2 separate regions of the Homo sapiens genome follow, and region 1 is linked to region 2. Evidence: promoter capture Hi-C in 16 types of primary human blood cells and fetal thymus (Javierre and others, 2016). All regions are on one chromosome and are shown on one strand. Each heading gives the region's core, a stretch centred on a gene start or on the middle of the fragment in contact. The rest is flanking DNA. Distances are from core to core; before and after follow the strand shown. Region 1 holds the start of TMEM9 (transmembrane protein 9). Region 2 holds the start of KIF14 (kinesin family member 14).

What was found. The method cuts DNA at HindIII sites, captures the fragments that hold promoters and counts their contacts. A CHiCAGO score of 5 or more calls a contact.
Region 1: a fragment that was not itself captured here is called in contact with the fragment with the promoter of KIF14 in region 2 in 1 of 17 cell types (naive CD8 T cells); the score reaches 5.9 in naive CD8 T cells.

Annotation. Positions count from the first base shown.
Region 1 is chr1:201,153,454-201,156,153 of GRCh38, forward strand. TMEM9 (transmembrane protein 9) reads right to left here and starts at 1,021. Exons shown (of 5, transcript NM_001288565.2): 1 at 405-1,021. The coding sequence starts at 470. RefSeq lists an enhancer at 258-407 and a silencer at 818-1,097. The HindIII fragment of the contact is 3,749 bases long and covers 1-2,700 here.
Region 2 is chr1:200,619,436-200,622,213 of GRCh38, forward strand. KIF14 (kinesin family member 14) reads right to left here and starts at 1,316. Exons shown (of 30, transcript NM_014875.3): 1 at 976-1,316. RefSeq lists an enhancer at 584-1,085 and a silencer at 1,254-1,403. The HindIII fragment of the contact is 3,652 bases long and covers 1-2,778 here.

The sequences.
Region 1 (2,700 bases), core at 85-2,584, 530 kb after region 2:
TTCAGGTTTAGACTTAGGTCCCCTCCCCAAGATAGCTCATTTTTTATGTGCAAATACTCCCAAATCCAAAAATATCTGAAACAAAACATACTTTGGTCCAAAGCAAAGGAAGGTATGGAGAACTTAGATAACTTCTCCAAACTTCCTTGCTGGAAGTCCACCACTGATCTGTCTGATCAGAGTGAGCCAGTGCTCTGTGCCCCACCCTTCCTCACTCCTCACCCGCACTATCCTTAGGGAGGCCAGCAGCCTTGAACCTGAAGGAAGACCACTAAAAGAAGTATGGCCCATAGGTGAGTGAGAGGCAGGCTTAAGGAGCAGCTGGCTACCTCTGAGTCAGCCCTGTAGACAGGGTGGCCGTGCACTGTGGTCGTGACCAGGTGCTGCAGGCTCACCTCCCTCACCTTGTTGGCTTCAGCTGGGGGCACCAGCAAACACCCGACCACAGCCACCAAAGATAAGAGCTTCATGCTTATCAGGCTTGCTGGGCCAGCAAAGCCGGACACCTGGAAAAAGAGATACGGAGTCGGAGAAGGGGAAGGTGGCCACACCGCAGCCAGCACGCTAGGCCCTTAACCATCCGGCCAAGTGGGAATGGGGTTGGGGGCTGGGCTCCAGGATTCCAAGGCCTGCTAAACCTGGTCGCCAAACCCTGCTTCCCTCCCGCCCAACTCTCCGGCTCTCCGCCAGCCACCTGGTGAGCCCGGCAGAGGGGTCCTCGAGGGGACACCGCTGCCAGGGGCCTCCAGTTCCTTCTCAAGGCCCGGCTCTGACCCGCGCATCACGTCCCACCGCCCTCCGCCATCTCCGCCTCTGCCCGCCCCGCAGCTCCTCCCCGCTCGGGCCCGACGGGAACTTTTGGGTGCGAGTCTGGGACCCCTGCTCCGACGGCGAAGGCCGGTGCCCACCACGCCCAGAGGTCTTAAGCCGGACTGGGACCCCCAATAGCCCCGCGACCCCCGTCCCCTCCCCCAATGCCGCGTCCACGAACCTACAAGCCCGCTGCAGCCGCAAAAGACCCAGTTGTCCCCGCCCTCTCCTAGCTTCTATTGGTTGCCAGAGCAGCCCCTTAACCCGACCGCGCTGTCGCCATGGCAACAAGACCCGCCTTCACCTGGGCGGGGAGACTCTTGCGCAAGGGAGAGGCGGGCATTTCTCAAACCCGACCAAACCAGAAAAGGGAACGTCAGCCTTCCAAACTCCTGGGGAAGGGTCTTGCCTTTGTGTGGCCTGAGAACTCCCACTGCGGTGCTTCTCCCTTCCTTGTATTATAAAACTCAGCTTGTTTCATCTTGCTGTTTTAGAAAGAAAGCGCTTTATACACTGTAAGCTAGTAACGTCAACAAAAACGATACGAGATTGAAGGGCTTTGTCCTCATTCAAAATCTGGAAATGTTATTTAGGGATCCACGTCTTTGCTGCAGAAGACTTTCTGCGCGGCAACGTCTCTACCCCTACACACACCTCTGAGAAGGAGAAATCTAGGGTTGGCGATGGGTGGTGTGGGCTGGGCCTGTGAAGAGTGTGCACAACAGCGTCCTCAGCCTGATCCCCCTACCCCATGCTGGTGCTGGGCCTGGCAAAATGGGGCAAAGTGTGCATGGCCAGGATGCAGGGGTGAGGGTCCCTGGCTGCTATGTGGCAGATGTGAACTTCTTGCCAGCTGTGAAGGAAAGGGGAGTCATATGAATTCAGGGCACCAGACCCGGAGTGAGGACACCGGGGCTTTGGCCCTGGCGCTCCCCCTAAGCAGCTGTGTTAGCCTGGAAAAGATACCTCCCTTCTCTGGGCCTCAGCTTCCCTTACTTCCCTTATCTGTAAAATGATTCGGTTGGATTCTAAGATCCCCTTCAGCTTTGATATGTTGGGATTCCTTAGGGGTGGGTGGGAGGGGTATCAATATGGCCCAAACTTGAGGTTGGTGGCTGGATTAGCATAGGGGCTGGGTCCAGGTGGAATCAAGCCCCTCGCAGGCCCTGTGAACTGAGGTGGGCACTTATCTGGAGGCCACTGAGTTTGTGTTCCTCTCTCCTATGCTTATGTCTTATTCCTCTTTATATCCTTGCCACCTGGCAGAGTGACCTGTGTTTGGTAGGTGCTCAGGAAGTGTTTGCTAAACTGAATTCTATAGAATTAAATTAAATCTAGTTGGCAGGGGGCAGGGGCAGGAGGCCTGCAGTGTGATGCAAAGGTCAGGGGCTTTGGAGCTAGAGTGACCAGGGCAGGAATCCTGGTTCCTCCCTTCCTAGTTGTGTGAATTTGGGTGGTTTCCTTTAGGACACCGCCTTTGGATCTTTGGAAGTCTTTGGAATCCTTTCAGAAGTCTCGGTTTCCATGCCCATAAAATGGGATTAATATTACCAAATTTTCAAGGTGGTTGTAGGGATATAATGAGTTTACATATGCAAAGCACCTAGAACAGCATCTGACACAAAGAGGGAGGCTCTATAAATGGCAATGTTAGCTCATTGTGGAGGTCAGAATGGCTGCTTTGGTGAGCAAGCTCAGGCAGAGACAGAATGCCTACCTCGTGGGGGCAGAAGGGATAGTTCAAGTACTGGAAAAAGACACTTCTTCCCCCCATATACGTTCCATATGAAGGTGGGACTTTCATGGGGACAAAAGCATGGGGCTGAGTCTGTCACCTCCAATGGATGACCCTCTGACACACAACACTAAAGATACCCAATGCTGAGCTCA
Region 2 (2,778 bases), core at 66-2,565:
TCCTCCTCCTGTATTCAAGCAAATCTCCTGCCTTAGCCTCCCAAGTAGCTGGGACTACAGGCGCCCACCACCATGCCCAGCTAATTTTTGTATTTTTAGTAGAGACGGGGTTTCACCATGTTGGCCAGGATGGTCTCGATATCTTGACCTTGTGATCCGCCCGCCTCGGCCTCCCAAAGTGCTGGGATTACAGGCGTGAGCCACCGCGTCCGGCCCATGTATGTTGAATACAGGAATGCCTATAGAGAAGATTGAATTGATTGGTGTCACGAGGCAGATTATTCCCAAGTACCACAGGCAGTAAGTACGATAAGTACTGTAAATTAATTGTGTTGAGAAAAACCATGCAAGATTAGATAAACAGACAACCTGCCCTTTAGCAGTAAGACAACAAATTAGACAGAGGTGTATGTAAATATACAGCAACAATATCTATCAGGTATTAACGTTTTAAAGAAAGGGAACAGCAGTGACAGCTAAGAGACCTGGCTTTTAGTCAGCTTTGTATCCAACTCCTTACAAGGATGTAAACAAGACTTTAAATTTGCATGCCGGGTTCTAACCTGTAAAATGACACTGGTTCAAACTATTGCAAAGATTATTGCTAGCGAGGAACAAATTAATGGAAGTTCATTTTTAAATGAGGCTTTTAAATTTTTACATAAATAACAGTCATTACAAAAAAAATTCGTCAGCTTATAAGCATCTCCCATCAACGTTTCAACTCAAAATACAGAATTTTCCTGTTATGAAATGAATTTAAAGGCAAAAAGAAGATTCTGGAAATTCTCTTGCAACTAAAAACCATTTGCGATTTGCACAAATCAATACGGTTTCTGTTTGAGGAGTTTCGCCATCAGATTTTAAAGAGGACTGGAAGGAATACAAGGAAAATAAGCACAATCCAAACCAAAACATCCGGTGATTCTGTTCTTTCTCTGCTAGTCATTACCAGGGGCTATGACTAAGAATTACCTCTTAATGCCAACCGACTCGGGGAGACTCGGGGAGAAGCCCACGGGCCGAGAGGCCCTGAAGTCCGGCTTCCCGGTCCCAGCAGAGACGCTGCCTTGCGCCCTTCGTTCGGGGACCCCTTCGCCGCCGACCTGGAATGCTGAGGAACTGAATGGGGGACTGGAGCTAAGACCACCCGCCCGCAGAGCAGTGGTCGCCTGTAGGGAAAGCGTCCGCACGCCCTCCCCAGTGCCGAAACTTCGCCCCTCCGCAGGGTCCGGCACCTTGGGGACCCCCTCGACACAGTCCCCACGCCACTCACCACCTCCAGCGCCGGCTCCCCAGAAGGCCGCAATTTGAATGGGCGCCCCGCCTTCTGATTGGCTGCTGGGCGTCGCGTCGGGTGCCGCGCCTTTGCTTCCACCCGCCCCCCGGAAGTGCCGGTGGTTGGGCTCCGGTAGCCGTCTCTGAATGCTGGACTCGCCCCACCCTCATCTCCCAGGCAACGCTCCCTCCCCTCCTCGGGTTCTGCTAAAGCGTGGAGCTTGGCCCCCTTTAAATCCGACCAGAGGAAGGGGCGGCGGTCGCGGGCGCAGCGGGCCCCTCGTTGAAGTGGGTGTCAAACGAAAAGCATGACAGTGACACTCTTGTCGGTCTTTAATCTAAAAGAAGCCATTACATCGAAGACTTCACATTGTAAATGGATATTTGCCCCCAAGTTAATCATAATAATTAACTTTTCTAGTGTTTCCTATGCAAGGCGTTCACGTAGGAAATATGCTAAATGTCTTATATGAATTTTTAAACAGTCCTGAAAATCTTGTGAGATAAATATTAATGTTATCCCTCGTTTACAGATGAGGAACTGAGGTTTAGAGTTAAACTTGTGAAAGATCAGACAATTAGCAGTGGCATAACTAGAACTTGAAGGTTCTTGCCGCCGTACAATGTAACTCCGTTTCAGTAAAAGTTCCCTTTTTTTAATTTTTTTTTTCTTTTTTGAGACGGAGTCTCGCTCTGCAGCCCAGGCTGGAGTGCAGTGGCCCCTGCAACCTCCGCCTCCCTGGTTCAAGCGATTCTCCTGCCTCAGCCTCTGGAGTAGCTGGGATTACAGGCGCGCACCACCACGCCCAGCTAATTTTTGTATTTTTAGTAGAGACGGGGTTTCACCATATTGGCCAGGCTGGTCTCGAATTCCTGACCTTGTAAGCTGCCAGGCGTGAGCCACTGCGCCGCCCAGCCCCCATAAGATTTTGAAATCTGAAAAAATATTACAAATACATTCTGAAAAATAACCAAATAAATGAGAAAGACTAGATAAATAGATATTGTAAAGCAACAATGTTTTTTAAACAGGCAAAAAGTACAGAGATATTGAAGAAGTATTCACTGAGATAGAGACCATAAGTAGCTCCAATTATATAGACCAACCAAACAGATGATAAAGTACTCATTCTAAATCTTACTCTAAAAATCATTCTAAAACTCAATTAAAATTAAGGTATAAGGAAACTATCAGAAAATAGAATATAATATTTATCAGGGCCAGGTGCGGTGGCTCACGCCTGTAATCTTAGCACTTTGGGAGACCAAGGCAGGCGGATCACTTGCAGTCAGGAGTTTAAAACCAGCCTGGCTAACATGGTGAAACCCCGTCTCTCCTAAAAATACAAAAATTAGGCAGCCGTGGTGGCGGGCCCCTGTAATCCCCGTTACTCAGGAGGCTGAGGCAGGAGAATCACGTGAACCGGGTAGGCGGAGGTTGCAGTGAGCCGAGATCGCGCCATTGCACTCCAGCCTGGGGGACAAGAGAGAAACTCCGTC